7 separate regions of the Homo sapiens genome follow, and regions 1, 2, 3, 4, 6 and 7 are each linked to region 5. The links are contacts of gene promoters, found by promoter capture Hi-C in blood cells and fetal thymus (Javierre and others, 2016). All regions are on one chromosome and are shown on one strand. The core of a region is centred on a gene start or on the middle of the fragment in contact, and the rest is flanking DNA. Distances in the headings are between cores, read along the strand shown.

Region 1 (2,959 bases), core at 292-2,791, 1.5 Mb after region 5:
GGCAGTTTTCTCATTCCTTCACGAATTGGCATGCCATAGAGTCAGTATTTTTCCATTTGTGATGGTTGATCTTCCCATCTCAAATACACACCGCACGCTCTTTTTAAATCAGAAATTTGAATTTGGTTGAGCCTGATATTTTCACGGTAATTTGCTGACTTTGTAAGATAAGATGTGAAAATTACTGATTACATTTGTAAACTTTATATACATATACACACATACCTACAGGTCTGTCTCTTCGAGGCACCAAGCCTATTTATATAATGTATCATTTCATAATTTGGCAATAAGCAAAATTAGCGTTTCGAAAGAAGTTTATATTGTCGATACATAAAGCTTAAATTTACTCCTTAACATCATACTAAAAGGGGAAAAGAAAATTTTCCTCTTAACACACCACTCCAGAGAAAAAAAATATTAAGACAAGCAAAAAAGGTACCCAGCCATAGTACAGGCATGCACAGCATAACAACTTTTTGATTAACAACAAACCACATATACCACAGTGGTCTCCTAAGAGTGTAATACATTGTACCATATTTTTAGTGTACGTTTTCTGTGTTTAGCTATGTAAATATTTACCATTGTGTTTCAACTGTCTACATTATTCACTACATTAACATGCTGTACAGGTTGTAGCCTAGGAGCAATAGGCTAGACCATCTAGGTTTGTCTCAGTACACCCTGTGATGTCTGCACTGTGAAATCACGTAACACTCAGAACATACCTCCTTCATTAAGCATAGCATGACTGTGTATTAGCAAAAATCAGTGGCTAAGGTTCTGTCTGAGTCCCCATGCTCTTTCTGACCTGGGTGAGCAAGGTGCAGGTAATGTACATATACAGTACATATTCAATAGAGCATTTTTTTTGCTCATGGTCTGAGTGGAAGTTAGGAGTAGCCTCAGGGTTTTTCCTTCATCTGTTCAAAACCCGTCTCCCTACCCATACAATCTGGCACTGAAAGTGTTGGTATAAAGAATACTTGAAAGAAGAAGAACCAAAAAAGAATTTTTTTTAAGTGGTGACTGGGAAAAAGGAATTCCTTAATTCAGCCTGCTGGAGTCATTGTTCCTAACTTCCTAAAATGTAAGGAAGGTGTACACATCTGGCATAATTAAATCGGTGATTGTTAATACTTTATTGGTTTTTGTTTTTTGTTTTTTTCCAAATAATACCCAGACTGGTCTGATGTATTGGTTTTATTTGGAATTAATAATACTTGGTTTAGGCCAGGTGTGGTGATTCATGCCTGTAATCCCAGCACTTTGGGAGGCTGAGGCAGGTGGATCATTTGAGGTCAGGAGTTCAAGACCAGCCTGACCAACATGGTGAAACACTGTCTCTACTAAAAATACAAAATTAGCCAGGCATGGTAGTGGATGCCTATAATCCCAGCTACTCGGGAGGCTGAGGCAGGATAATTGCTTGAACCTGGGAAGCAGAGGTTGCAGTGAGCCGAGATCACGCCATTGCACCCCAGCCTGGGCAACAAGAGGGAAACTCCGTCTCAAACAACAAAAAAAGAATCCTGGTTTAGACTGATTGCTGATAAGTTTGTTTTCACTTTTAGAAATGAGTGGTGGATTGGCTCCAAGTAAGAGCACAGTGTATGTATCCAACTTGCCTTTTTCCCTGACAAACAATGACTTGTACCGGGTAAGTAAATCTTATCGAGTGACTGCTATTTGAGATACAGATAACCTTAAGCAAATAGTTCTCCCTGGCAAATTCTTTTTTCCTTTTTTTTTTTTTCTTTTTTTGAGACAGTCTAATTCTGTCACTGAGGCACGAGGCTGTAGTGCAGTGGCACTATCATGGCTCACTGCAGCCTCCCCGCCCCCTCAGGTGATCCTCCCACCTCATCCTCCCAAGTAGCTGGGAATACAGGTGTGTGCCACCATGCCTCTACAAGCTACCTGGGAGACTGAGGTTGGAAGATTGCTTGAGCCTAGGAGGTCGAGGCGACAGTGAGCCAAGGTCACACCACTGCACTCCAGCCTGGGTGACAGAATGAGACCCTGTCTCAAAAAAAAAAAAGAAAAAAAAATAGAAGCTATATTTATTGAACATTTAAGTCAAATTATGTGTTAGATACTAAGGAGATGCTAAGATGTTAGGTGCTAAGGAGAAAAAATAACGCAGGAAAGGTGGGCTATTGAACGTTAAGTTGGGAATGGAAGTGAAATTTTACATAGGGCGGTCAGAAATGCCATTATTGAGAAGGTGACTTTTGAATAAAGACCTGAAACGAGTAAGAGGCACCTGTGCAAATTCTAGAGGACAAACATTTCAGAAAAAGAGGGGTAATCTTAGGTAAGCCCACTCGAGGTGCCTTATACGACCTATTTACATCATGGTAAGGACTCTGGCTTTCACTCTGCATGAAACAAGAAGCCATTAGTAAGTATTATATAGAAGACTGTACTGGCCTTCAGAACCCAGTGTTGCTAACACTGCTATCCAGTTATTTTACATTCCAGCATTATACAGCTTAATCATAGAACGAAAAAATTCGTTATTATTGGTTGCATATACTAACACATTCTAAAAGACTTTTTATATAATAGGAACTCTTAGTATATGGGTAATGAGCTGGAACTGTAGAAATAAATGAGATTGCATAGGATAAAGTAAAAGTAACAGAAGAGAGAGCCAAGTATAAAGTTCCACCAACATGTTAATGGTGGGCAGAGGAAGAAGACTGATAGAAATGGATTTTTCATTATAAAAGCTTATTTTATGAGGTTTTGTTTTGTTTTTTAAATAAAGCAGTCTAAGGATTTGCCTTCTCAAACAGGGATTGCTTAATAGGAATAACAAGGTAGTGGTGAGGGTAGAATTGGAAAAGTGCTGCTCCATAAGATTGACATTTGAAGCACAGGTGTATCTGGCACTATGATGGAGTTGATAGTTGCCATGGGTATACCTCAGGAACACAGCAGCTGTCCAGTA
Region 2 (2,787 bases), core at 151-2,650, 1.7 Mb after region 5:
CGAAAAACCATTGAATTACACACTTTAAAAGGGAATTATGCTTGTATTATTCTGCTTTGCTTTGTAACAACCCCATACATCTAAACAGTTTACAATAGCAAGCATTTATTTCTTGCACACATTACATGTCTATGGCTATGACTTTGCTTGATATATCTTCTCATCCTGGGATCCAAGCTAAAGGAGCAATCCATACATTGGATATGCCTGGTCTTGTGGTAGTGGATGAGCAAGAAGCCAGATTGAACAACACAGTCCCATTTGAAGCTTCTACTTTGATGCCACAGTATCATGTCTTTTTATATTATTTTGGCCAAAGCAAGTCACTTGAATAAGGTCAAAGTCAATAAATGATGCAGGGATATATGCCTCCCTTATCAGGCAGGCAAGGCCCATGGTAATGAATAGGGTTGTATAATCCTTTTACAGTTAAATGTGGGGAGTGAATAACTGAACAGTAATACAGTCTACTACACAAATAGAGATTGCCAGTTAAGGAGAAAGAAAGACTAATTGATGCAAGAAGGTCTTTAAGGACTCCTGAGAAGAAGATGGGCAACAAGGGGAAGCATATGGAGTTGGTAATAGGTATGAGACTAGCTAAGGGGAAGACAATTAATTTATATTTCTACTAATCAGCATAGTCATGTCATTAACTGTTCTTCAGTATTCATCTGAGAATGTGAATGAACAGCTCAGTTTCAACTGAAGATTGTGCTGAAAAGGTACGGTGAAAGAAGAAGGTGGAAGTTTGCAGGTATAGGAACATGAATGGATGAACCATATGATGTAGTCTGAGTAGGGAGGGAAATGGGTAAAGCAGGGAGCTTATACTTAGGAAGCATGTGATTGGAGGGCTGAGTGATTTCCACACATGTAATGGGATATAAATAATAAGCCTGGGCAACAAAGCAAAACTTTGTCTCTACAAAAAATTTTTTAAAAATTAGGCTTGGTGGCACATGCTTATAGTCCTAGATACTTGGGGACTGAGGCAGGACGATAGCTTGAGCCCAGGAGATTGAGGCTGTAGTGAGCTGTGTTTGTACCACTGCACTCCACCCTGAGCGACAGAGCAAGACCCTGTCTCAGAAAAAAGAACCATAATTATTAGATCAGAGACTAGTCTGAGATGAGGTATTGGATTGCAGTTTCTGACAGGGTCCAGGATTTGTCATTTTTTTACTTTTTCTTCTCTCTCTCTTTTTTTTTCTTTTGTCAGAGAGGGTCTCACTCTGTTGCCCAGACCTGGTGTGCATTGGCATGATCACAATTCACTGTAGCCTCAAACTCCTGGGCTCAAACTATCCTCCTAACTCAGCCTCCCGAGTAACTGGGACTACAGGCACACACCACCATGCCTGGCTAATTTTTTTTTTATTCTTTGTAGAGATGGGGTTTTGCCATGTTGCCCAGGCTGGTGTTGAACTCCTGGGCTCAAGCGATCCACCCACGTCGGCCTCCTAAAGTGCTGGGATTACAGGTGTGAGCCACTGTGCCCGGCCAGCATTTGCCATTTTTCACTGAAGGGAAAAGGAGGTAAGAGTTACTGGATTTAAAGAATTGTGTAACCTGGGTGTTGGTTAGGTCTCTCACCTTGCAGTATCTGAAATGACATTCTGTTACTCCCCACTAGACAGTATGATCCATGTCCATTTTACTCACTATAGTGTTGCCAGTGTTTGGCCTGTGTAGGTAGTCATTCAGTAGAAAATTTATTGATTTACCAAATGAATGGTTAGAGGAAAGTAGGATTTGGTACTGAGACGAGGACTGTGAACCGGATGCTAGTTTTCTGTGAGTTGGGGAGGAACCAGTAGGTTGGTAGATCAGAATGGTGTGGCATTGTGGCTCTTTTACATGGCTAGCAGTTGATGCTGGCTTTTGACTAGGAGCTCAGTGGAGGCTGTTGATCTGCATTCTCTCAAGTGGCTTCTGCATGTGCCTTGGGCTTCTTACAACGTGAAGATCAGGTTCAAAGAGTGTTCCAAGAAATAGGATGTGGAGCTCTTAAGGGAAGGGCCTGGACATTGGTACAGTATTATATTCAGTATTCTATTTGTCAAAGCAATCACAGAGCCCACTTAGATTCTGGATAAGGGGAGTTAGATCCTACTTGGTTGGTTGGTTGGTTGGTTTTTTGAGACAGAGTCTTTCTCTGTCACCCATGCTGGAGTGCAATGGAATGATCTTGGCTCACTGAAACCTCCGCCTCCTGGGTTCAAGCGATTCTCCTGCCTCAGCCTCCTGAGTAGCTGGGATTACAGGCAACCGCCACCACACCTGACTGATTTTTTTTATTAGAGATGGGGCTTCACCATGTTGGCCAGGCCATTCTCAAACTCCTGACCTCAAGTGATCCGCCTACCTTGGCCTCCCAAAGTGCTGGGATTAGAGGCATGAACCACTGCGTGCAGCAGATCCTACTTATTAATAGAAGTGTCAGATGTGTGATCATCCTTAATCCACCATACTTGGCACCTAGTTTGGTACTAGCAGAAGTGTAGGGCTCTTGGTGTGGCTCAAAGCTTCACAAAATTTAAACTCGTTACTGAGTTGTTCAATATGTTGGTCTTGTTGAATTTAATTCTCATGTCTGTGGCTTCGTCATCTTGCATCAACTTAAAAAAAAAAACAAAACAAAAACATTGCCCCCAAATACAGTTTAATTGTAATACTGCAAGAGGGTCTTTTGAGTTAGAAGCTCCCTGGTGGATATTTCCTGAGAACAGGGAGTTTGAGGTGTGCTCTCTAGCTCACGTGGGCGTTTTCTTGAGACTAACGAAG
Region 3 (2,700 bases), core at 117-2,616, 1.4 Mb after region 5:
AAAAAAACTTGTTCATGAAGATAAGAAAGGCGTTCTGACAGTCATATTTGCAGTCCTATCTAATATTTTATCTCTGTGTGGACCCTAGAAGTTTAACCTTGATTTATGGGCCAGAGTAGTATTTCCCTTTTTAGGACCATTAAATCCCTAGTGATTTCTAGCCAAACCCAAGTGTTGCATATTATTCATGATAAAGCTTAAGGAGACACTTAATCTTTAAAAATATTCACTCAGCCTCCAGGAAAGTTCTAAAACCTGTGTTTAAAATGCCAACTCACTGGGGCACGGTGGCTCAGGCCTGTGATTCCAGCACTTTGGGAGGCTGAGGCAGGCAAATTGCTTGAGCCTAGGAGTTAGAGACCAGCCTGGGCAACACAGGGACAGGGAAACCCTGTCTCAAAAAAACAAAAACAAAAACAAAAACAAAAAAAAACAAGAAAGGCCAGGTGCAGGCTCACACCTGTAATCCCAGCACTTTGGGAGCCGAGGAGGGCAGATCACCTGAGTTCAGGAGTTCCAGACCAGCCTGGCCAACATGGTGAAACCCCGTCTCTACTAAAAATACAAAAATTAGCCAGGCATGGTGGCGTACGCCTGTAATCCCAACTACTCAGGAGGCTGAGGCAAGAGAATCACTTGAACCTGGGAGGTGAAAGCTGCCGTGAGCCGAGATCGCACCACTGCACTCCAGCCTGGGCGACAGAGTGAGACTCTGTCTCAAAAAAAAAAAAAAAAAAAAAGTGTCCGGTACTAGTGGTTAGCTGTAAAAACCACTCAGTATCAACTAGTATAATTTTCTTTGTGCAAGTATCATCTCGATTTTAAGGATTTTTTTGTTGTTTTATCCATAACCCTGAAGCATGCTAAATAGAGAAACAGTATATTAAAGTCTGGACATATTTTTAATACTGTTCCATAAATCACCAGGTAAAAACTGCAAGTAAGACAAAGGTCCATTTACCATGGAGAGAAAACTTACAACAAAAGCTTTCAAAACTATAGGTTTCTAGCTATGTTGGAAATGAAGGTATCAACATATATGATACAATGCATTCAATACAATGAACTATACGATGAATCAAAAAGGGCCTTTGAAGAAATATAAATAACAATACAACCAGGATTATGAGGCCTCCAAAAAACACATCTGACGAAACTGATGCTTTTTATTATCAAAGAGTACACAGCCTGAGAGTTAGGACAGTGTCTTTGGCTATATCGCAAACACTCCAGCTATACTGGCTGGCATATAAAAGACGCAAAGTCATCAGGAGAATGGAGGAAGGGAAGAACTAACACCCCATAAGGCACTGTCTCTCAAAATGTGGTCCTTGAACCATCTGTGATTGCAGATTACTTTAGATGCTTATTTGAAAAGCAGATTTTTGAAGCTCAGATTCTCCTGTTAATACAAATCCCCAAGGTAATTCCCGCCCCTCACATCAGTCAAACCAGGTAAGCGGTGATAGAACCCTCAGTGTCAGCAGACATATGTTCACCGGTTATGAGTAAAATTCGACAAAGTGGGAGAAAGGGATACAAGGGAAGGGAAGAATGGGGAGATGGAAAGCATTTACTTCTTATTCTGAACCTCATTTTTCTCTCCTTCCCACATCCAAATATACACAAATATTCATATAAAATATTGGCTACTTCCTTTCTAGTCAATAGGGACTTCCAAAAAGAATTACGATTTCAAGAATTATTTTGAGAAAGCAGCCAGGTAATTAGCAAGGCAAGCTTAAGAATAAGTGAAGTACAACCTCAAATATCTTTTATTTTAAATGTGGAAACGGAAAACCACAGACACTGCGACTTAAGCTGAGGAATTTTCCATATCACCTCTTCTTCTATCCTATCAAAAAATCAAACACCTGTCTGCCTGCTTGAGTTCAGATTAGAAGTTTGGTGGTCAAGTTCAAGGCTGTTTCCACAAAATCACATGTTTACAGTTAAAAGCATTCTAGAAAAAGTAGAACAAACGAAAGTATTCCAGGCATAAGATATGGACTAAGAGATCTTCCAACTAGAACTTTGTTTGTTTTTTTAAGGCGGAGTCTCCCTCTGTCGCCCACGCTGGGGTGCAACAGCACGCCTTCGCCTGCAAACTCCGCCTCCCAGGTCCAAGTGATTCTCGTGCCTCAGCCTTCCGAGCAGCTGGGATTACAGGAGCATGCCACCATACCCAGATAATTTTTGTACTTTTAGTAGAGATGGGGTTTCCCCATGTTGGCCAAGCTGGTCTCAAACTCCTGACCTCAGGTGATCCACCCACCTCGGGCTCCCAAAGTGCTTAGATTACAAGCATGAGCCACCTGCCTGGCCTTTTTAAAAATTTTTTGAGACAGAGTCTCACTCTGTCACCCAGGGTGGAGTGCAATGGTGTGATCACAGCTCACTGCAGCCTCAACCTCCCAGGCTCAAGCAATTCTCCCACATCAGCTTCCAAAGGTACCAAGCGCATGCCACCACATCCAACTTATTTTTTAATTTTTTTTGTAGAAATGGGGTCGCCTTATGTTGCCCAGGCTGGTCTCGAACTTCTGGGCTGAAGCTATCCTCCCACTTCAGCCTCCCAAAGTACTGGGATTACAGGTGTGAGCCACCACACCCAGCCCCTAGCATTTAAAAGTAAAGTATATTGGCCACTTGATGACACTCTTGTTCCATATTTTTCAACATTATATAATACTTCAAATC
Region 4 (2,700 bases), core at 44-2,543, 1.7 Mb after region 5:
GAGGTGGGCAGATCACCTGAGGTCGGGCGTTCGAGACCAGCCTGGCCAATACGGTGAAACCCCGTCTCTACTAAAAATACAAAAAATTAGCTGGTCATAGTGGCAGGCACCTGTAATCCCAGCTACTTGGGAGACTGAGGCAGGAGAATTGCTTGAAACCAGGAGATGGAGGTGGCAGTGAGCAGAGATCCCACCCCTGCACTCCAGCCTGGGTGACAGAGCGAGACTCCATCTCAAAAAAAAAAAAAAAAAAAAATTGAGTTCAGTTTTAATAATTATGTAGCCTTGGTTGTCTGCTTATCTGCATTCTAACTTTTTAGTCTTTTTTTTAATCAGAGGAAAAGATTTAATATAAAGATTCAAGCTTCACATCATGACAAATAATAAATTGTGAAATATAATTTTTTCTTCTTCTTTTCGTATTTTTTATAAATATTGGGTTTCACAACATTGCCCAGGCTGGTCTTGAACTCCTGGGCTCAAGCCATCCTCTCGAGTTGGCCTCCTAAAGTATTGGGATTATAGGTGTGAGCCATGGAGGCTGGTGGTGGCTCTTTTTCTATTTTAATCTAATTTCTTATTCTTGATCTTTTTTGTATTTTTCCAGAGTTTGATTTTTATCTACTTGTTTTTCTTTTGTTTTTATAAATGGCCACAAATATCTAGTGTAAATCAGGCCAAATAGTATTTAAAAAAAAAATCTTCCTTATTTCAAGTTGTAAGAATAAACTCCTAGGGGAACTATTTGGGGCAAGGATCCAGTGAGATACATACCTCCCCATCTGGAATTCCTGAGGAGTGGAAATAATACATACAGTTTTAGTAGGTCTTTAGATTACATCTAGATTTAAATCGGCTGACCTACCTGGAAGAAGGGAGTTTGGATGAAAGCTACCACCTCATCATCATTTTTCTAATAAATCTTTTAGCAAGAAAATTCAGAAACTAAATGGATATTATTTTCATTATCCTCTTTTAATTCATAATCCAACAATAAAATGGTCCTGTGTTTACTTTTGGAGTCAGCAAGAATGGGAAGAGTTGGAAGGTTATAAAACTAGTTTGGGAGAAGACTTCTAAAGGACAAAGAAAATGACGGTGAACACATTTTGTTTTTTAATTTTTAATTTCTGTGGGTACATAGGTGTATATATTTACAGGGTACATGAGATGTTTTGATACAGACATGTAATGCATAATAATCACATCATGGAGATTGGAGTATCCATCTCCTCAAGCATTTATCCTTTGTGTTACTGACAATCCAATTATACTCTTTTAGTTATTTTTAAATGTACAATTATGTTATCAAATAGAAGGTCTTATTCATTCTATTTTTTTGTACTCATTAACTATCCTCACCACCCCCACCATCTACCCTTCCCAGCCTCTAGTAACCATCCTTCTACTATCTGTCTCCATGAGTTTAACTGTTTTAATTTTTAGATCCCACAAATAAGTGAGAACATGGGATTTTTGTCTTTCTGACCCCGGCTTATTTCACTTAACATAATCATCTCCAGTTCCATCCATGTTGTTGCAAATGACTGGAACTCATGTTTTTTATGGGTGAGTAGTACTCCATTGTTTGTATGTACCACATTTTCTTTATCCAGTCATCTGTTGATGGACATTTACTTTGCTCCCAAATCTTAGCTATTGTAAACAGTGCTGTAATAAACACCAGAGTGCAGATATCTCTTCAATATACTGATTTCCTTTCTTTTGGGTATATACCCAGCAATGGGATTGCTGGATACTATGGTAGCTCAATTTTTAGTTTTTTTTTTGAGGAACCTCCAACCTGTTCTCCATAGTGGTTGTACTAATTTACATTCCCACCAACAATGTACAAGGATTCCCTTTTCTCCACATCCTTGCCAGCATTTGTTATTGCCTGTTTTTTGGATAAAAGTCATTTTAACTGGGGTGAGATGATATCTCATTGTAGTTTTGATTTGCATTTCTCTGATGATCAGTGATCTTGAGCACCTTTTCATATGCCTGTTTGCCATTTGTACATCTTCTTTTGAGAAATGTCTATTCAAACATTTGGCCCATATTTTGATTGGATTATTAGATTTTTTTTTCCTACAGAGTGTTGCTTGAGCTCCTTATATATTCTGGTTATGAATCCCTGGTCAGAGGGGTAGTTTGCAAATATTTTCTCCAATTCTGTGGGTTTCCTCATGTTGTTGTTTCCTTTGCTGTGCAGAAGCTTTTCAACTTGATATGATTCCATTTGTCCATTTTTGCTTTGGTTGCCTGTGCTTTTGGGGTGTTACTCAAGAAATTTTTGCCAAGACCAAGGTCCTGGAGATTTTCCCCAATGTTTTCTTTTAGTAATTTCATAGTTTGAGGTCTTAGAGTTAAGTCTTTAATCCAGTTTGATTGGATTTCTGTATACGGTGAGAGATAGGGGTCTAGTTTCATTCTTATGCATATGGATATCCAGTTTTCCCAGCACCATTTATTGAAGAGATTGTCTTTTCCCATTGTATATTGTTGGCACCTTTGTCAAAAATGAATTCATTGTAGCTGTGTGGACTTGTTTCTGGATTCTCTTTTCTTTTCTATTCTTTTTTTTTTTTTTTTTTTGGAGACAGAATCTCACTGTGTCACCCAGGCGGGAGTACAGTGGTGCAATCTTGGCTCACTGCAACCTCTACCTCCTGGGTTCAAGAATTCTCGTGCCTCAGC
Region 5 (2,766 bases), core at 251-2,750:
CAAGACGCTTGCAGCTTTTAAGTCAAACTATTGTACTGGCAGTAAATAAGCACTTTCTGGTGGCTGTCAGGGTGGTCCCAACCTAACTAGACATTCCTCTTCTTCAGGACTGAGAATACAGTGGCCTTTCCCAAGCACGAATATGGAAGGATTATATTTTGCTCAACTATACTTTTGAGCAACGCCAACTTCCTTAAGCAATTTCCCCGAAGCACTAGGACATGAATCAGTCAAAATACTGCAAGTCAACTCTGCAATTTTCTCTCTGCTCAGCAATGTAGTCAAAAACTGGTAAATCAGGGTGAACCATTGTGTCAGGAAGAATTTGATTAGAATGAAACTCCTCCCTACATTTCTTAAATCCATACAAGTCATAAAACTCAGATTTAGTTTATTCCTGAATATGAGAATATGTCTGAAAAACAGAGCTCAGATAACAGGCAATAGAACATAACCTTGTTTGCTGTGATTCTTGTAAAGAAAAACAATTGCAGGCCTGTTCATCACTCATGAAAAATACATCGTATAGTACTGGAACAGTGATTAACTTGCACTTATATTATTGACCTGAATAAATTATTTCTTCATTAGCAGATTATAATTTTGTGTATGTGTCACTTCAAGGCCCTAAAAATAAGAACTAGCTTCCCACCTAGTAGCAGTAGAGAAGCAGTACCAAAAAAAAACCAAACCCCCCACAAAACTAACATTACCTTTCAGGAAGGAACTACATGTTTGTAAAAGCAGGAAAGGAAAAGATTTTTAAGTAATATCTGCTGCTACCTTACAAATCTGTCCAAGTGAATTTTGAATAATTACTGGATTAAATAATAAACTGCCAACCTAAAGCAGAGCAGGATTTGCAATGGTATAATCGACCACAGAGGGATACTCAAATCAGCTAATCTCTTAGTGGCTGTCTCTTTCCGGAGTGAAGAGAAAGATACACTGAGTCTCTAAATGTGTCCAGCTGAAAAGAAAAGTTAACAGTCTGAGATTAACTTAATTTAAAATCGTGGAAAAATTTGATGAGAGGCAGTCTATATTAATTCTTTCAAAACAATGGAGCAAGGAGAAGGCTTTTCTACACTAAACGGTATCGATTATAGGAAGAGTAAACCAAGAAAAATAATGTGCACATCTTTTTTAAGCTGGAAAATGCCTATTTGGTAAAATGATCACTTCCGTTTTTGAGCACCCCTTTGCTGAGGCAGCGAATGGCGGCGTCGGCGGGGTTGTCAGAGAGCAGACGTCGGAGCACTGAGCAGTCTAGATTCTGCGGCATGTCCCCCCCGGAAGAAGCGGGAGAGGCGGCGGCAAGAGCAGAAGCAGGACCCCAAGCAGAGAACTAGGATAGCGAGGCCGGGGGCTGGACCGCAGCCCGGCGGCCAGGAAGGGCGGCGGGGCGGCGGGGACGCTCGGGCACTCAGTCAACCTCACGGGGCGGGGCGGCCGCGGGTCGCGGGCGGATGACGCGCCGGGGCCGGCGGAGGAGCAGCCACTTCCTGGGGCCGCCGGCCGGGGCCGCTGGCTGCACTCAGCGCCGGAGCCGGGAGCTAGCGGCCGCCGCCATGTCCCACCAGACCGGCATCCAAGGTAACAGCGCCCGGCGCGACTCGCAGGGAAGGGGCTTCCGGGAGAGCCGGGAGAGCCGGGAGGGCTGCAGGACCGGCAGGGCTGGAGTCGGGCCGGGAGCTCCGGAAGTCGGTCTCGCGGGGCGAGCCGGGCCTCGGCGCCTCTCCGCGCTCCTGCTTCCCGGGCGCTGCCGGCCTGCGTCCTCCTCCAGCCCGGTCCCTGCTGCCGTCACGTTGCAGATTGATCCGAAATTCGGGGGAGCGAAGGAAATTGGCTTTCGAGGCGGCCTGGTTGAAGGGGGCGTGCCTTCCACCGTCCCCGACAGTCGCCCAACTTTCCCCCTTTTGGTCACGTAGGGAAGAGCTGGGACAGTGGAGGCGACTGGGGCTTCAGTACGCTGTCGAGAACCAGGCGAGTTTTCTTTTTCATGGTCCAAAGGAGAATATTACAGGACTTTGATTACAAAAAGAACCATGCCAGAATCTTTCTCACATCAGTAGGGGTGCTTCCCAAAACTCTCCCGCATTTTCTCTCCAAATAGGAAAATGAGAGTTATGTTCTGAGAAATCTCGAGTGTAAGCGTGTGTTTTGATCTTTTTCCTAGATACTCCCCAAGGGAAACTGATCTGTATGGTTGCATGTAATGCGTGCAGACAGTTCAATATGCAGTTATATCTGACCTCCATTATTTCCTGGTTTGAAATTGGGCAGCCTGCAGGTACTCACCTCATCAAGAGTCAAATAATATATCCCCGGGTTACTCGCGATCACTTAACGAGTTCTAGTGTAAACTCAAGCTCTTACTGTTAATAGCGAGTCTTTCTCCCAGATGAACACTTAATTGTATGTTTTATTCGTAAAGATTTTTGACACCACCGCACACATCCCCCTGCACGCACGCAGAAGCAAAATAGTCTCAAATCTGAAAACTTTGTTTTATTTATCCGCATTAATTTCGATATATAAATATGTAGTTATTGACTCTCATGCTTGAGCCTTATAGCAAGCACTACCTACTTACATAGTGGTTCTTGCTGCTAATAGACAACACAGGAACGAAATTAGAACGAAATTGAAGCTTTAATAGGAACACAAGGGTTAGTTATTAAATACATATTTATTCAATGAGTTTAATCTAGCTTTTGAGAAATGCAAGTTAGAAAAATATAACCAGAGTTAAGACTGAATGCA
Region 6 (2,888 bases), core at 251-2,750, 1.6 Mb after region 5:
AACATTCCAAAAAGAAAAAAAGTATTTGCTAAAATGATTGTGGTTACTATTTTTGGACCCGTGATTTGTGATTTAAGTATTTTGAAAAGCAGAGTATCTTCTTGGCTGTGTAAGGTTGGAGTTGGTTTAGAGTATATTTGTGTATCTGTGTTAGTACTTTGTGCTTTTTAAAATGCTCAATAAGCAATTTTTAGAAAATTCGTTTTTTGGAGGCAGGAACATTAAAGTGGAAACAATTATAATCTTGATCTCTGGTACTATATATTATTGCTTTTTGTTGTTCCCTCTCTATTTTCTTGTAGCCATTAGAAAAATACTGAAACTAGAAGAGCCTATATGTTTATTTGCAGGGACAGCAAGGAAGGGGGGAAGCTGGTGTCCTACTCCACAGCCAGTCTTGGGGTTAGAGGAACCCTGAGAAATAGAGTAGGTGGTGGCAGCTCAGAAGAGAAGAAACAGGCTGAATACCTGGCACCTGGAAGAAGAAGGAATATAGTACACAGGGGAGTTGGCCCAGGACAGAGAAGTGGGCCTAGTTTAAAAGAGGCTTGAGGCCCACATGGGGGCCCCTGACATTTTTTTTTTTTACCAGTACATCTAAGCTCTTGTAGATCCAATTTTTAGTGGTGGAAACATTACTTGAGGAGGACTCAGAGAAGCATTGTCATTTGGATTGAAACTGAAGAGGCTCTGGGCAACTCACCAGAAATCTAAGGGACACTGTGTTCCTGAAAGTAAGTGTTCTACACCACGACCCTCTCAGCTTCTTCCTTCCTCTCTCTGAATTCTCTTCTCTTTTGATTTTGGCTCTAAGTTAAACCTAAGAGCTCTAATTTCTCTGTTATCTGTTATTTTCCTAGTGGTTTCTGAAATTCAGGGTAGAATCTGTGTTTGTATAGAACAGTGTGGAACAGGGTATTGTTACTAGAGAAGATATTGATTGCATCACAGAATATTAATATTTTTCCTCTCTGGTAATGTTAAAAAAACAAGATTAAAGGACTGCAGAACGGTGTTGAGAAGCAAAAGTTTCAGTAGTTGGAAGAAATAATTCTCCATAATTGACTTATTAATGAACAGGGTAATTTCCAGAGTAAGGTTGGCAAGTACTAAAGCCAAGACTGGATAGCTGCAGAGCAGAAGGATGCAGTTTGCTAATGATTTGTTTGTGTGACGCACAGATGGGATTTGAATCCTTTGGGTCAGACTGACCTTTGAACTGATTCTGCCTCATTGCCAAATGTTAGGCCAAGTCTAAGCCATTCTAGACATTTGAAAAACTTTTTTCTTTTTAGACCTGCAGAGAAGATTGAGTCCTTGTTCTACCTTTGAAGTCTTCTTTTTTTCTTTTTTCTTTTTTGAGATAAGATCTCATTCTGTTGCCCAGGCTGGGTTGCAGTGGCATCATCCAGGCTCACTGCAGCCTCGAACTCCCAGGTTCAAGGAATCCTCCCACCTCAGCCTCCCAAGTAGCTGAAACTACAGATGCACACCACCATGTGTGGCTAATTTTCTTATTTTTTGTAGAGATGGGGGATCTCTATGTTGCCTAGGCTAGTCTCAAACTCTTGAGCTCAAGTGATCCTCCTACCTTGGCCTCCCAAAGAACTGGGATTATAGGAATGAGCCACCATTCGGCCCCTTTAAAGTCTTTATTGGCAATATAATTTTTTTTCTTTAAATAATATTAAGTTCAAATTCTTTATGCAACAGAAGCCCATTTCCTTTGGCTATATCCATGGTAGGTCATGTCTTTCTAGAGAACGAAGTTACATTCATGGCATGTATTTCAAAATAAAATGATTTGTTGTAGCTTCAGTTCCTCAAGTTTTAATTTTATTTTAGATTTTGGGGTACATGTGCATGTTTGTTACTTGGGTATATTGCAGAGTGGTGGGATTGGGATTCCAGTGTACCCATTACCCAAATGGTGAACGTTATACCCAACAGGTCATTTTTCAGCCCCTCACTCCAAAATTTTTTACATTGTGCTTTTGTGAGAGAAACAGTAGTAAATGTCAAACTGACAGGAAATTTTTTAAAAGGAAACAAAATGCCACGGTGACACATTATTTTCAAGATGCTGCACAGTCTTTATATCTGAAGTTTCTTTTCTTTCTTTTCTTTTCTTTTCTTTTCTTTTCTTTTCTTTTCTCTTTTTTTTTTTGAGGCAGAATTTGAGACAGTCTTGCTCTGTCGCCCAGGCTGGAGTACAGTGGCGTGACCTCGGCTCACTGCAACCTCCACCTCCCAGGTTCAAGCAATTCTCATGCCTCAGCCTCTGTGGTAGCTGGGATTACAGGTGCCCGCCACCACACCAGGCTAATTTTTGTATTTTTAGTAGAGATGGGGTTTCACTATGCTGGCCAGGCTGGTCTCAAACTCCTGACCTCAGGTGATCCGTCTGCGTCGGCTTCCCAAAGTGCTGGGATTACAGGAGTGAGACACTGTGCCCAGCCTATCTGAAGATTCTTATAAGGCAAGAAATGTCCCAAATATAAATGCAAGAAACTTTAGGAAATTAAGGATCATTCTTGGCTGGCCCAGTGGCCCACACCTGTAAGCCCAGCACCTTGGGAGGCTGAGACAGGAGGATTTCTTGAGGCCAGGAGTTTGAGACCAACCTGGGCAACACAGTGAGATCTCGTCTCTACTAAAAATTAAAAAAATTAGCTGGGTGTGGTGGTGCATGCCTGTGGTCCCAGCTACTCAGGAGGCTGAAGTGGGAGGATCCCTTGAGCCCCAGAGTTCGAGGTTGCAGTGAGCTGTGATCATACCACTGCACTCCAGCCTGGGCAACAGAGTGAGACCTTGTCTCAAAAAAACAAAATTCTGAGTCATCAGAGAAAATGAAATATTAAATATTAAGGATAGTCTGTATGAGGGTG
Region 7 (2,728 bases), core at 169-2,668, 1.5 Mb after region 5:
GTATATGGATGGTCACTATAAAAATTCTTTTGACTGATGTATGTTTGAAAAATTCCATAATAAAATATTGGGAAGTTGTACTTACATGGGAAAATTTACATGAACACTGATGACTGTATAAAACAATAATAATATGTGGGGCATAAAAAGAACAGAAATTTAAATATGCCTGTGAAGATTTTGAATAAAAGTGTTTCATGAAATAAGAATGGAAAGAAAAAATATTTCAACATTAATACATTTTAAACAATGTTATATGGAATATGTATATAACTGAATTACTAAATTAAGTAGACCTGACTGTCAAGTTAGTCAAAAGAAAAATGTCTGGATTATGGTTTGAGTACATTTACATTTGAGAACAGGTGGAACTGATATGCATCCCATCTATTCCCTATAAAGGCTCAGATATTAACAAAATCATGTTCTGGATTTACTAAAGGATTTATTTTTGATTGGCCAAACTCTCTAGGAGAGAGAAATAAACAATGACAAGAATTATAAAAAAGATTCAATTAATCTAAGGAAGTAAATATTGTTATTTAACTACTTAATTACAAAAACTAATTATGTAACTCATATTTACCACAAATGTGACAGAAAAATAACGTGTTGCTGTTCTTGACATCACTACTAGTCAATATTGTTCTCCCTGCTGCTGCCAAAACCAGAAAAATCTTTTAATGCAAAATAATGTATTTGTTAAAGAAACAGAAAAATGAAGCAGGGATAAGCAGATAGGACTGCTTCAGCCCCAGCTCTGTTGTAATTGCCCAGAATATAAACTGCTAGTGCTCTGATCCTAATTTCCAAACATTACAACTTTTAAAAATTCTGAAACTGGAACTTCTCTCCCATTTTCAAATAAGCTAATGAAAAAATCGACATTTTATGTTGCAGCTTCATTAAAATGTTCCATATTACCTAACTGTTCTCCAACAGGCTAAGAAGCTGGAACCCCATAAGTGGAAGTTTACATGTATTTAAAAGCCATTCTGGGCTGGGCATGGTGCCTCATGCCTGTAATCCCAACGATCTGGGAGGCCAAGGTGAGAGGATCACTTGAGCCCAGGGGTCTGAGGCTGCAGTGAGCTGTGGCTGCTCCACTGCACTTCAGCTGGATGACATAGCAAGACCCTGTGTGTATGTACATATGAACGAATGAATGAATGAATGAATGAATGAATGCCATTCTGTCACAAAACTTGATAAAGGTTAAGAAATCAGATAACTAAGCTCATAGAAATTATAGGTTTAAAGACAGAAAGCATGCTTTAAAAACAAGAGCTTTACAGGTACCTAGAAGTGTAGATATTCTGTGGTGACTGATTTCCTTCCTATAGAAGAAGCATATATATTTACATACAAAATCTCTGTAGTGCACTTCTTTGAACTTTAGTCTGCTACCTACCTACCCAAGTTTAAGGCCAAATAAAAATTTCTGTGAAAGCCCCTTATAAAAGTGACTTACTATTTATACATAAAGAATTTAAAAGCGCCTGGGCGCGATGGCTCACACCTATAATCCTAGCACTTTGGGAGGCCAAGGCAGGCGGATCACGAGGTCAGGAGATCGAGACCATCCTGGCTAACACGGTGAAACCCCGTCTCTACCAAAAATACAAAAAATTAGCCGGGCGTGGTGGCAGGTGCCTATAGTCCCAGCTACTCGGGAGGCTGAGGCAGAAGAATGGCGTGAACCCGGGAGGCGGAGCTTGCAGTGAGCCGAGATCGCCCGCTGCACTCCAGCCTGGGCGATAGAGCCAGACTCCGCCTCAAAAAATAATAATAATAATAATAATTTAAAAGCATACCATAAAGTGCTAAAATAATGACTGGTACATTTGTTAAGCTGTATATTGAGGATAAGTTTGCCAAAACTCAAATTAAGTATAATTTAACATCAAAACCAAAGTATATTAGTGTTCAATTGTCTTTTCAGGTTTATCAAGGCTAGAAACTCAGAAAACAGCTGCTTTTATTAACGAGGTCATACTACTACAGAAGGTACCTTACCTTCCCAACAGTCACCACTTCACGTTGCACTTTATATCACATCTAGTAGTTCCTCAAATACATTTATTTTGTATCAGAATTGATCATAAATGGGGCAAAGAGTGTACTAAGAAAAAACGGAGAAGCCGGGCACGATGGCTCACGCCTGTAATCCCAGCACTTTGGGAGGCCGAGGCGGATCACCTGAGGTCAGGAGTTTGAAACCAGCCTGGTCAACATGGCAAAACCCCACCTCTACTAAAAAATACAAAAAATAGCCAAGCGTGGTGGTAGGCGCCTGTAATCCCAGCTATTCAGGGAGGCTGAGGCACAAGAATCGCTTGAACCTGGGAGGCAGAGGTTGCAGTGAGCTGAGATCATGCCACTGCACTCCAACCTGGGCGACAGAGCAAAACTCCATCTCAAAAAAAAAAAAAAAGAAAGAAAGAAAGAAAAAAAGGGAGAGAAATTCTGTAAAATTGTTTTTTGATAAAGAACAGGATTCAAATACATAAAACAAAATAGAATGTTACCTTCCTCTATTCCAAGCACTAACGATAGTGGGTTATCAACTTAACTAGTTTTATATTTTGCAAAAAAAATCTGCCTTTTCAAAACTTTTGAGGTATGCCATACATATAAAAAAGTGTACAAATCACAAATGGATAAATTTCACAAGGTGTAAGTACCACCCAGATTAAGAAAGAGAATATTCCCAGCGCAGCAAAATCGT

Evidence for each region. Contacts are between HindIII fragments. The CHiCAGO score rates a contact against its expected background, and 5 or more counts as called.
Region 1: a contact is called between a fragment that was not itself captured here and the fragment with the promoter of TWF1 in region 5, in 10 of 17 cell types (total B cells, non-activated CD4 T cells, naive B cells and 7 more). The highest score is 14.2, in total B cells.
Region 2: a fragment that was not itself captured here is called in contact with the fragment with the promoter of TWF1 in region 5 in 2 of 17 cell types (monocytes and non-activated CD4 T cells); the score reaches 7.0 in monocytes.
Region 3: a contact is called between a fragment that was not itself captured here and the fragment with the promoter of TWF1 in region 5, in 2 of 17 cell types (M1 macrophages and M0 macrophages). The highest score is 5.6, in M1 macrophages.
Region 4: a contact is called between a fragment that was not itself captured here and the fragment with the promoter of TWF1 in region 5, in 1 of 17 cell types (M0 macrophages). The highest score is 6.0, in M0 macrophages.
Region 6: a contact is called between a fragment that was not itself captured here and the fragment with the promoter of TWF1 in region 5, in 6 of 17 cell types (non-activated CD4 T cells, total B cells, activated CD4 T cells and 3 more). The highest score is 13.7, in non-activated CD4 T cells.
Region 7: a contact is called between a fragment that was not itself captured here and the fragment with the promoter of TWF1 in region 5, in 1 of 17 cell types (total B cells). The highest score is 5.9, in total B cells.

The regions. Positions count from the first base shown.
Region 1 is chr12:42,322,723-42,325,681 of GRCh38, reverse strand. It overlaps ZCRB1 (zinc finger CCHC-type and RNA binding motif containing 1), which reads left to right. Exons shown (of 8, transcript NM_033114.4): 2 at 1,578-1,663. The coding sequence starts at 1,580. MIR7851 (microRNA 7851) reads left to right here and starts at 1,823; the gene lies at 1,823-1,982. The HindIII fragment of the contact is 2,399 bases long and covers 342-2,740 here.
Region 2 is chr12:42,132,633-42,135,419 of GRCh38, reverse strand. The region is part of intron 1 of GXYLT1 (glucoside xylosyltransferase 1); the gene reads left to right. Among named protein-coding and RNA genes, the nearest start is that of GXYLT1, 11 kb to the left of the region's middle. The HindIII fragment of the contact is 2,261 bases long and covers 270-2,530 here.
Region 3 is chr12:42,364,265-42,366,964 of GRCh38, reverse strand. The region is part of intron 4 of PPHLN1 (periphilin 1); the gene reads right to left. Among named protein-coding and RNA genes, the nearest start is that of PPHLN1, 39 kb to the right of the region's middle. The HindIII fragment of the contact is 753 bases long and covers 990-1,742 here.
Region 4 is chr12:42,151,982-42,154,681 of GRCh38, reverse strand. No RefSeq gene overlaps it. Among named protein-coding and RNA genes, the nearest start is that of GXYLT1, 8.5 kb to the right of the region's middle. The HindIII fragment of the contact is 1,854 bases long and covers 367-2,220 here.
Region 5 is chr12:43,805,051-43,807,816 of GRCh38, reverse strand. It overlaps TWF1 (twinfilin actin binding protein 1), which reads left to right and starts at 1,500. Exons shown (of 9, transcript NM_002822.5): 1 at 1,500-1,596. The coding sequence starts at 1,572. It also overlaps a transcript of TMEM117 not described here. RefSeq lists a silencer at 1,325-1,804. The HindIII fragment of the contact is 5,668 bases long and covers 1-2,655 here.
Region 6 is chr12:42,233,460-42,236,347 of GRCh38, reverse strand. The region is part of intron 2 of YAF2 (YY1 associated factor 2); the gene reads left to right. Among named protein-coding and RNA genes, the nearest start is that of YAF2, 3.3 kb to the left of the region's middle. The HindIII fragment of the contact is 4,151 bases long and covers 1-2,888 here.
Region 7 is chr12:42,340,690-42,343,417 of GRCh38, reverse strand. The region is part of intron 2 of PPHLN1 (periphilin 1); the gene reads right to left. Among named protein-coding and RNA genes, the nearest start is that of PPHLN1, 16 kb to the right of the region's middle. The HindIII fragment of the contact is 3,964 bases long and covers 1-2,728 here.